Regions from separate parts of the Homo sapiens genome. Here regions 2, 3 and 4 are each linked to region 1. Evidence: promoter capture Hi-C in human tissues and cell types (Jung and others, 2019). All regions are on one chromosome and are shown on one strand. The core of a region is centred on a gene start or on the middle of the fragment in contact, and the rest is flanking DNA. Distances in the headings are between cores, read along the strand shown.

What was found. Contacts are between HindIII fragments. The study calls those that stand out against the background at their distance.
Region 2: a fragment that was not itself captured here is called in contact with the fragment with the promoter of LAMA1 in region 1 in 1 of the 25 tissues and cell types used here (aorta).
Region 3: a fragment that was not itself captured here is called in contact with the fragment with the promoter of LAMA1 in region 1 in 4 of the 25 tissues and cell types used here (H1 embryonic stem cells, bladder, ovary and 1 more).
Region 4: a contact is called between a fragment that was not itself captured here and the fragment with the promoter of LAMA1 in region 1, in 1 of the 25 tissues and cell types used here (IMR-90 fibroblasts).

Annotation. Positions count from the first base shown.
Region 1 is chr18:7,116,440-7,119,209 of GRCh38, reverse strand. LAMA1 (laminin subunit alpha 1) reads left to right here and starts at 1,413. Exons shown (of 63, transcript NM_005559.4): 1 at 1,413-1,550. The coding sequence starts at 1,490. The HindIII fragment of the contact is 17,081 bases long and covers 1-2,770 here.
Region 2 is chr18:7,177,239-7,180,008 of GRCh38, reverse strand. No RefSeq gene overlaps it. Among named protein-coding and RNA genes, the nearest start is that of LRRC30, 52 kb to the left of the region's middle. The HindIII fragment of the contact is 9,943 bases long and covers 1-2,770 here.
Region 3 is chr18:7,063,717-7,066,486 of GRCh38, reverse strand. All of the region lies in intron 3 of LAMA1 (laminin subunit alpha 1), which reads left to right. Among named protein-coding and RNA genes, the nearest start is that of LAMA1, 53 kb to the left of the region's middle. The HindIII fragment of the contact is 4,804 bases long and covers 1-2,770 here.
Region 4 is chr18:7,158,781-7,161,550 of GRCh38, reverse strand. No RefSeq gene overlaps it. Among named protein-coding and RNA genes, the nearest start is that of LAMA1, 42 kb to the right of the region's middle. The HindIII fragment of the contact is 5,564 bases long and covers 1-2,770 here.

The DNA.
Region 1 (2,770 bases), core at 164-2,663:
ATACTATAATATTTGATCATTTATTAAATACTAAGTTTACTTATTTAATAATTACTTAGTAACATTTTAATAGTTACGAACGTCTGCATTTTAAATTTAGTACTGTATGGAGTATTCACTGAACTATATTGCATCCTTTTAAAACGGCCAAACTATCATTTTGTTCCATGATTTTTAAAAATTAATCGATGGCTAAGTACTATAACTAAGTTCTACTCACTAGATGTGTAAGGAAGTGTCCTCAGAAAAACAGGAATTGATAGAGTTGTCAAATAGATTCACACAAGTGAGAGGAAATTATCTTCCTATCAAGAAAAAAAAACCCTGCAAAATAAGATGGTGGGATGATAATGAGATATTGTCCCTGTATATTTATATTGAGAAAATGTGAAATCTACAAAGTGTTATGAATACCTTTTTTTTCTTTTTTGAGACAGAGTCTCGCTCTGTCGCCCAGGCTGGAGTGCAGCTGGTGTGATCTCAGCTCACTGCAACCTCCCACTCCCGGGTTCAAGCAATTCTCCTGCCTCAGCCTCCCAAGTAGCTGGGACTGCAAGCGCGTGCCACCACACCCAGCTAATTTTTGTATGTTTTTAGTAGAGACGAGGTTTCACCATGATGGCCAGGCTGGTTTCGAACTCCTGACCTCAAGTGATCCACCCGCCTCGGCCTCCCAAAGTGCTGGAATTACAGGCGTGAGCCACTGCACCCATCCAATACTTTTGATAGAAAAAAAAAATCAGAGGAAATTAAAAATTCTTTATCGGGGACCAGACATAGTTTTAAAATAATAATAATTATAATAACAGCAGTTGAAGTTGCGTGTCAGGAGCGCGTCCTCTCTCTCCAGCAGTAAGGGTATCTAATTATAATAATTAAGTCCAAGTGACCTTGCCTTCTTTAGGCAAACAAAGTCGGGAACAAGTTGCAACTCATTTTCAGAAAAAATCCTCAAGTCCTCTGCCCACGGCGGAAAGGGCGGCGGGTCGGCCGAGCCTGGGTGGCTTCCCGAGGGGTCGCCTCTCGCCCAGCTCCTGGCAGGGGCGCGTGGGTCCTGGCCCGGGGACTGCAGGGCCGCGGCGGGGCGGGCAGGGTCAGCTGGGCACATAGTTTCTCGGAATCCACCCTCCCGGACCCCCGCAGCCCAGTTTCTCCTCCCCTCAGCCCACCTTCTCTGCCCACCTCCTACCCGGAGCCGGGGAGGCGGCCGCGGTCAGCCCGGCCTCCCCGACTTGGGGTCCGCGTGCGCCGGGACCCAGAGGCCAAGCTGGGCGCCCCCGGGGGAGGGGTCTGGGTGGCGGGGCCAAGCCGGGGCGGGACGGGGCGGGGCGGGGCGCAGCCGAGGGGTGTGTCCGAGGGCGGCTGGAGGGAGGGGCGGCAGGACTCCAGGAGCGGCGGGGCCAGGGCAGCGCGGACTCGCGTCCCGTGGAGCGTTCCAGGCGGGCGCGCGGCTTTCTCCCCAGACCCACCGAGTGGCGGCGGAGGCGAGATGCGCGGGGGCGTGCTCCTGGTCTTGCTGCTGTGTGTCGCCGCGCAGTGCCGGCAGAGAGGTGAGCCCGGCCCGGGTCCTAGGGTCCCTGTCCCCCGCAGGCGGGCGGGCGGGGGCGGCCGCGGACAAAGCCCGTCGCGTTGGGGCTGCTGGAGTCCGGGCGCGCATCCTGATCCACCTCGGAGTGGGTGTCTCGGCCACGTGGGTCTCCCGCGCTTGCCGGGGAGGGCTGGATGGGGACGCCGCTCCTGCCGGACGCTGCCCGCTCTTTGCAGGCTTAGGCTTTAACCTCCTCGGGCTTTGGGGTTAAAGCCCAGCCTCGCCTCTGGCTTTTGCGGGACTTCGCGACCCAGGAGCGCCATCTACGCGAGCAGTGCTGGGGGTGGCGGGAGCGGGGCGCCCGGAGCGGGGCGCCGGGGGTTGCTTTTAGTGCCCCGGCTGCGCGGGCGGGGGTGGCGGGGCTGTTGGCCGGGCGCGGGGGATGAATGGAGAAAGAGCTCTCCCGAGTCGCCCTCATTGTCCGGCTGCGCAAGCTGGGTCGCGGCGGCCGGGAAAGGGCGGATTCCTCGGGGCCCCTGGCAGCCAAGCGGGCTAGTGGGGAGAGACGCGGCGAGAAGGGCGCCCCTAGCCAGCCGTCCCGGGCAGGGGGACCCGCAGGCGGCGTCCAGGGCACTGATGCGCCTTCCCGACCCGCGCTTTTTGTGCAATAGGCGAAGTGGCCAAACCCGCTCATTCACTGCGCGGGATTGACCGTGGGCGCGCCGGGGCGAGGGACCAGCGGAGAAGGGAGCACCTTGCATGCGCGTTGCAAGGATTGAGAAGAGAAACTCAGAGCGAATTTTCATTTTCTGTTTTTGCGGGCGGGCGGAAAGAGAGAGAGAGAGAAGAAAGAAAGAGAGAGAGAAAGAGAAAAGAAAGAGAGAGAAAGAAAGAAAAAGAAAGAAAGAATTCTTTTCCCTTTTGGGGGACAACCCTAGTCACCCACGCCACCCCTAGAGCTGTCTTCGCAGCGTGGCTTCGTGTTGGCTAGGCAGTCACAAATATTTGTTGAAAACATCTTAATGTATGCAGCACATGACAATGGGCGTATTCCCACGAATATAAACTTCATTAAAAAAAAATTCGAGTCAAAAGTAGTGGGCGGAATTTGCAGTGCCCTCGTGGGAAACGTGTGTTTGGGCATTGTGCTGAGTTGTGAGCTCTGCAGAAACGCGACCATCTCATTCATTCAAGCATTCATGATGGAAGCACTGGACCGGAGCTGGAAACGCAGCATTGAAT
Region 2 (2,770 bases), core at 169-2,668, 61 kb before region 1:
TTTGCTTTGGTGGTAGCTTGCATCTAATATGGTAAGTGAATGCAGTTAGACTGTGGATGAATAACATTAGCACACGTTCATATTCAGTACTGGTAGAGTCTGAAGACGTGATTTCTCCTCTGTCAAACCTTCTCCACAATCTTTTTTTTTAGACAAAGTCTCACTCTGTCACCAGGCTGGAATACAGTGGTGCGATCTCAGCTCACTGCAACCTCTGCCTCCCGGGTTAAAGTGATTCTCCTGCCTCAGCCTCTCGAGTAGCTGGGACCACAGGCATGCGCCACCACGCCCAGCTAATTTTTGCATTTTTAGTAGAGACAGGGTTTCACCATGTTGGCCAGGATGGTCTCGATCTCTTGACCTTGTGATCCGCCCACCTCAGCCTCCTGAAGTGCTAAGACTAAAGGCGTGAGCCACTGTGCCAGGCCATCAAATCTTTATTGACTTGATTTCTCCATACAACTTGTGTCTCTGAGTAATTTGGCCTTTGGGTCTCTTTCAGTTTAACTTTCAAAGTCTTCTGGGTATATTTTTTCTCTTGTCTCATATTAACTCAGAATTATGCAGAATAATTTTCCATTTAGATGAGTGAGGCAACTAGGAAAGGCAGTAATTGATGTCACAAATGTCTTCTAAGCCTGGTTCAGACTCAGAGAAAGTTTTGAAAAGAAAAATTGGATACGTTTTTCTTTTCTTGGCATTTCATCATTTTCCCCAAACGTATTAATGGCAGTTATTGAGCCATATTTATTAATTTCTCATGAAAATTAAGTTATAATGAGAGGTGACAGAGTGCTGGCAGTCCTCAGAGCCTTCGCTTGCTCTCGGCACCTCCTCTGCCTGGGCTCCCACTTTGGCGGCACTTGAGGAACCCTTCAGCCCACCGTTGCACTGTGGGAGCCCCTTTCTGGGCTGGCCAAGGCCAGAGCCGGCTCCCTCAGCTTGCAGGGAGGTGTGGCGGGAAAGGCGCGAGGGGGAACCAGGGCGGCGTGCGGCGCTCGCGGGCCAGCTGGAGTTCCGGGTGGGCGTGGGCTTGGCGGGCCCCACACTCGGAGCAGCCAGCCGGCCCTGCTGGCCCCGGGCAATGAGGGACTTAGCACCCGGGCCAGTGGCTGCGGAGGGTGCACTGGGTCCCCCAGCAGTGCCGGCCCACTGGCACTGCGCTTGATTTCTCACTGGGCCTTAGCTGCCTTCCCGCGGGGCAGGGCTCGGACCTGCAGCCCGCCATGCCTGAGCCTCCCACCCACTCCATGGGCTCCTGTGCGGCCCGAGCCTCCCCGACGAGCGCCTCCCCCTGCTCCACGGTGCCCAGTCCCATCGACTGCCCAAGGGCTGAGGAGTGCGAGTGCATGGCACAGGACTGGCAGGCAGCTCCACCTGTGGCCCCGGTGGGGGATCCACTGGTTGAAGTCAGCTGGGCTCCTGAGTCTGGTGGGGACGTGGAGAGTCTTTATGTCTAGCTCAGGGATTGTAAACACACCAATCAGCACCCCATGTCTAGCTCAGGGTTTGTGAGTGCACCAATCGACACTCTGTATCTAGCTGCTCTGGTGGGCCCTTGGAGAACCTTTATGTCTAGCTCAGGGATTGTAAATACACCAATCGGCACTCTGTATCTAGCTCAAGGTTTGTAAACACACCAATCAGCACCCTGTGTTTAGCTCAAGGTTTGTGAGTGCACCAATTGACACTCTGTATCTAGCTGCTCTGGTGGGGCCTTGGAGAACCTTCGTGTGGATACTCTGTATCTAACTAATCTGATGGGGAGGTGGAGAACCTTTGTATCTAGCTCAGGGATTGTAAATGCACCAATCAGCACCCTGTCAAAACAGACCACTGGGCTCTACCAATCAGCAGGATGTGGGTGGGGCCAGATAAGAGAATAAAAGCAGGCTGCCCGAGCCAACAGTGGCAACCCACTCGGGTCCTCTTCCACACTGTGGAAGCTTTGTTCTTTCACTCTTTGCAATAAATCTTGCTACTGCTCACTCTTTGGGTCCACACTGCCTTTATGAGCTGTAACACTCACCACAAAGGTCTGCAGCTTCACTCCTGAAGCCAGCGAGACCACGAGCCCAGAGCCCACCGGGAAGAACGAACAACTCCAGATGCGCCGCCTTAAGAGCTGTAACACTCACTACCAAGGTCTGCAGCTTCACTCCTGAGCCAGCGAGACCACAAACCCACCAGAAGGAAGAAACTCCGAACATCAGAAGGAACAAACTCCAGACGCGCCACCTTAAGAGCTGTAACACTCACCGCGAGGGTCCGCAGCTTCATTCTTGAAGTCAGTGAGATCAAGAACCCACCAATTCCGGACACAATAATATTTTGTTCTTACCAGTAGTCTAGCAAAATAAGCTATTCTTTTAATAAACCCTGGAGATTATATTTTGATGTTGAGTGAGTGTTTTAAGATAATTAGATTCACTTTTATCTGTGTTTATTCAGATTTCATTATTTAAATGTATGCATGATAGTATAAAGTCTTTCAGTTACAAAAAGAATAACCAATATGTTATGTAACTTCTTCCTAATTGATAATTAATATTTTCACCTACAGTTTTTTATTCTGCCTGTAAAAATCTGCAATAAAATGAGGTTTAAATCTGAATTTGTGCTCCCTTCACAGGGTTCCTGTTAGCTAGTGTGAGCAGGTACTACCCCCATTATGTCGCTAAGGGGAGCTGTTGGTCCTTCATTACTCAGTAAACCAGTGCTGGCCTCTGCCTGGTCTGTGAAGCTACTTTCTGATTAGGAGTGGTTCATT
Region 3 (2,770 bases), core at 148-2,647, 53 kb after region 1:
TATTAGAGGCTGGACAGACTTTTCAAGTCATATTCTAACCAAAGAGAAAGAACCGATTTGACTCTAAGTCTCATTATTTTGAGAAGTTCCAGTTGTCACAAGAATAACTATGGAACATTGGAATATTGATTAAAAATCTGATACCTTACCTCTGTATTGTGCATTTTATAAAGTGCTTTCCTGTTCATTATTTCATCTTATGCTTACATGAAAAATCTGAAAAATGTGTCGATTTGTATCCACGTCATTCACGAATATGCACTGGGATGTAGAGAATACATCCTCTGGATTTGTCGTTTTAAGCCTAAATCATGGAAAACATTCAATGTAGTTTTAAAGTTCTCTAGGCTATAGGAAATTAAAAATATATTACTCACCTATCACTACCTTTTTCCAGGGGAATATGGGTGATTGTGGAATTCTGACTCTGAAAGCATTGGTTTTGGTGAGATGACCAGGCTGCCAAAGTGCACTGAAGGTAGAGACTTCTTAGTGACTGGGACAGCTGCCTGTTGATGCCGTGCACCTCCTCAGACCTGTGGTCTCTTTGCAATTTGTATGCAGGCACTTAGAAAGCACTGACTCGCTCTGGCCTGACTGTTTCGGAAATGAAGCTAGGAAAACTGTGAGGTCAAATTTAAACCTGCAAATAATTAGCTGGATGGCATAGCTGTACAAACTGAGATAGCCCGGGAAATTTGGTAAAGCTTTAAAACTATTATACTTATTCGCTTCTGTTCAGCCAACTGGGCTGATTTTTGAGACAGAGTCTCACTCTGTCACCCAAGCTGGAGTGCAACGGTGCGATCTCAGCTCACTGCAATCTCTGCCTCCTCCGTTCCAGCCATTCTTGTGCTTCGGCATCCCGAGTAGCTGGGACTACAGGTGCGTGCCACCACACCTGGCTAATTTTTGAATTTTTAGTAGAGATGAGGTTTTGCCATGCTGCCCAGGCTGGTCTCGAACTCCTGGCCTCAAGTGATAAGTGATTCACCTACCTTGGCCTCCCAAAGTGCTGGGATTACAGGTGTGAGCCACCATACCTGGCCAACATAAGCTTTCTTATCAGTTGAGAATTACTAGAATATGTGTAATTGTTTTCTTGTTTTAAAAAATAATAGACTATTTTTTAGAGAAGTTTTAGGTTTACAGAAAAATTGAATGTAAAGTACAGAGAATTCCCCCACACCCCTCTGTACAATAGTTTTTGGATCAAATTTTGGCTAGTCGTTGTTTTTTTTTTTTTTTTTTTTTGAGATAGAGTCTCACTCTGTCACCCAGGCTGGAGTGCAGTGGCGCAATCTCAGCTCACTGCAACCTCCGCCTCTCGAGTTCAAGTGATTCTCCTGCCTCAGCCTCCTGAGTAGCTGGGACTACAGGCACGTGCCACTATGCCTGGCTAATTTTTTGTATTTTTAGTAGAGACGAGGATTCACCCTGTTAGCCAGGATGGTCTTGATCTCCTGACCTTGTGATCCACCTGCCCCCCTCCCAAAGTGCTGGGATTACAGGCGTGAGCCACTGCGCCCGGCCTTGGCTATTCTTAATCACCCTTTTAAGAGCAAGTGACTGATCCAGTGCAGTTCAACAGTTTCTAAGACCTTTTCCTCCGTAGTATTTACAAGACGATCATGAGAATTGTCAATCATATAATTTAAGAATTTTTGCTTTTCCTACTATTTAATGGTATGTAATCAGAAGATATTTATCTGTGTTCTTCATATGAAGGAAGCACAAAAAAATGTCAGTTAAATAACCACTTAGTAGGTCTCTAGTGGGATGAACAATATTTAGAATCATTTACAACTTTATACCAGTCTTGTATCAGTCTTATAGACTGAGCCAGGCAAGAAATGGGGCTGCCCGAACTTGCTGTTCAGGAAATGCCACCAAGGAGAAAGCATTGTGTGAACAATGGGTCTTTCACTGTAAAGTCCTGAGTTTGGGGCTCTGGTTTTGTATTTTGTGAAGTATCATCATGCCTTGCCAGAGCTCAGTAAGAATGTGACCGAAATCAGGTCATGAGAAAGATAAGATTTCAAACATCCCCTCGGAGCTGTTTGCTTGACCTCCACTGACTTAATTGGTTTCTATGGAGTTGGCCCCTGCCTAGAAATACTACATTCCTACTCATTTTCAACTTAGACAGCTCAGTCTTTCACAAGGTTGAATCTTCATACCATTCACTTTTCATCTCTTTTTTTTTGGAGGGGGTGTTATTATAAAATATGCATATCATAAAATTTACCATTGTAACCTTTTTTTGTATTAAAAATGGCATATTCTCTATTTTGCATACTTTAATTTCAGAACAAAATAAACAAAAAAAAATCCACAATACACAACATCCAATCCTGCTGTCAGAGTAGGGAGGGAATGGGGGCTTGACACCCTTGTTTCCTGCCTTCAATACAAAGACAGGAGAGAAAAAAACACTAGACATCAGCAGGGGGAGCCAGGTGGGACAGGGGCACTTGAGGCTGCAGTGGGAGCCATTTTAACCATTTTTAAGTGTACAGTACAGTGGCATTAAGTATATTGTGCAACCGTCACCACCATCCATCCCCAGAACTTTTTCATCTTCCCAAACAGAAACTCTGTACCCCTTAAACACCAACTCCACGTTCCTCTCTTCCCCCAGCCCTGGGTAGCCTCCATTCAGCTTTTGTCTATGAATTTGATTACTCTGGGTAATCAAGCTTACATAAGTGGAATCATATTCTATTTGTCCTTTTGTCTGGCTTATTTCACTTAGCGTACATAATGTCCT
Region 4 (2,770 bases), core at 179-2,678, 42 kb before region 1:
TTCAGGGTCCTAGGTGCAATGATACTCAAACTGGGCCACCCTGTTCGTATTCTGCTGCTAAAACACAATATACAGACTAGGTAATTTTATTTTTAAAAAGAGATCTGTTTGGCTCACAGAAGCTGGGACGTCCAAGACTGAAAGCTGCATCTGGCAAGGGCCTTCTTGCTGCATCCTAAGATGGCAGAAGGGCATCATGTGGTGAGAGACACTGAGAGAGAGGGAGAAAAAGTGGGCAGAACTCCCTAACTTATGAAAATCCCATTCCTGAGATAATGACATTAATTCCTTCGTGAGAGCAGAGCCCTTATCACCTAATCATCTCTCTAAGGTCCCATTTTTTTTTTTTTTTTTTTTGAGACGGAGTCTCACTCTGTCGCCCAGGCTGGAGTGCAGTGGTGCGATCTCCGCTCACTGCAAGCTCCGCCTCCCGGGTTCACAACATTCTCCTGCCTCAGCCTCCTGAGTAGCTGGGACTACAGGCACCCACCATCACACCCGGCTAAATTTTTTTGTATTTTTTAGTAGAGACGGGGTTTCACCGTGTTAGCCAGGATGGTTTTGATCTCCTGACCTCGTGACGCCCACCTCGGCCTCCCAAAATGCTGGGTTTACAGGCGTGAGCCACTGCCCCCGGCCTTTTTTTTTTTTTTTTTTTTTGAGATGAAGTCTCACTCTGTTGTCCAGGCTGGAGTGCAATGGCACGATCTTGGCTCACTACAACCTCTGCCTTCCAGGTTCAAGTGATTCTCCTGTCTCAGCCTCCTGAGTAGCTGGGATTACAGGCATGAGCCACCACACCCGGCTAATTTTTTGTATTTTGAGTAGAAATAGGGTTTCACCGTGTTGGCCAGGCTAGTCTCGAACTCCTGACCTCAAGTGATCCACCCGCCTCAGCCTCCCAAAGTGCATGGGCCACCACGCCGGGCCCAAAGAACAATATCTTCTATGTTATTTAAATAATGTCAAGACTAGACAGGAACAGCTTCCAGATGTGTGATGATAGCCCAATAAAACTAAAGACCAATCTTACATATGAATATTAAGGCCAAAGGAGCTAAATAAAGAATAAAGAATTATGGTAAATAATTCAGAATGCCATGACCAAGTGGTGGTTATGCCAGAAATGCAAAAAGAGAAAAATTATTAGAAAATACACTAATATATTTCACCATAATAATAGATAAAATGAGAAAAAGCATATGATATCTCTCTAGAGCAGCATGTCCAATAGGAAGATAAAGTGAACCACGTGGGTAATTTTAGATATTCTAGAAGCCACATTTCAAATAAGTAAAAAGCAACAGATAAAACAAATTTTAATGATATTTTATTTAACCCAATATATCTAAAATGTACTGTCCTAGCTCACCGCAATTCAGACACAAAATTTTCATTGGAAAAGCTTGATCTGCATTAAGATTTAGTGAAGTTTATGATACAAAAAAGTAGGTGTATATATCCAAGTTGCAAACATACTTGAGTTTTTCAGTAACTGAATTATCAGTCTTAAAATTTAGTTTAATTAAAATTAAATTAAAAATTCAGTTCCTCAATCACACTAGCCAAATTTCAAGTGTTTGTGAGCCAGCCACAGGAGGTAATGGTTACCTTATTGAACAGCACACTTCTAGATGACGAAAAAGAATTTGATAAAATCAGCATACATCCTTGAGTTTAAAATCTCTGTCTACCTCTCTGGGATTTCAAGCAGTTCTTTTTAGAGGCAACTAATGTTAACTGAGAGAAACCCTGAGGGAGACATCACTTGTATACTCCTTTTTTCCTTTTGAATTTGTATTAAGTTCATCATCTCACATCTCACAAATAAAGGGGGGAGGGGGGAGGGATAGCATTAGGAGAGATACCTAATGTAAATGACGAGTTAATGGGTGCAGCACACCAACATGGCACATGTATACACATGTAACAAACCTGCACGTTGTGCACATGTACCCTAGAACTTAAAGTATAATTTAAATATATATATATATATATATATATATATATATATATATATATATATAAACTAATCACTTTAAAATTTTTTTTGCTGGGTGTAGTGGCTCACACCTGTAATCCCAGCACTTTGGGAGGCTGAAGCAGGCGGATCATGAGGTCAAGAGATCGAGACCATCCTGGCCAACATGGTGAAACCCCATCTGTACTAAAAATACAAAAATTACCTGGGCATAGTGGCGTGTGCCTGTGGTCCCAGCTACTCAGGAGGCTGAGGCAGGAGAATTGCTTGAACCTGGGAGGCAGAGGTTGCAGTGAGCTGAGATTGTGCCACTGCACTCCAGCCTGGTGACAGAGTGAGACTCCCTCTCAAAAAAATAAAAAGAAAAAAAATTTTTTTTCATACAAAATTCTAACAAAACTTTTCATGAGTGTAAATGTCTTGGTAAAGAGTTTACTCTAGTGAGTGCAAATGTCCATGAGGTTTTTTCTGGGGGGGTGATAAAAATGTTTTAACATTATTGTAACAATGGTTGCATAACTAGTAAATTTACTATTAAAAGTCATTGAGTTGTACTCTTAAAAAATAAATGGATTTAATTGTATATAAATTATATCTCAATAAAGCTCTTAACATAAATAAGTTTACTCCATATATAGATTCATGTAGATAAAGCTATAACATATAGATATAGACATAGACACAAATACAGGTACAGACATAGAGAAAGTAACATAGAGATAATAACAAACATAACTTCCTGATTATCTATTATATATATATAATACTTATGGATATCATACTTAATGA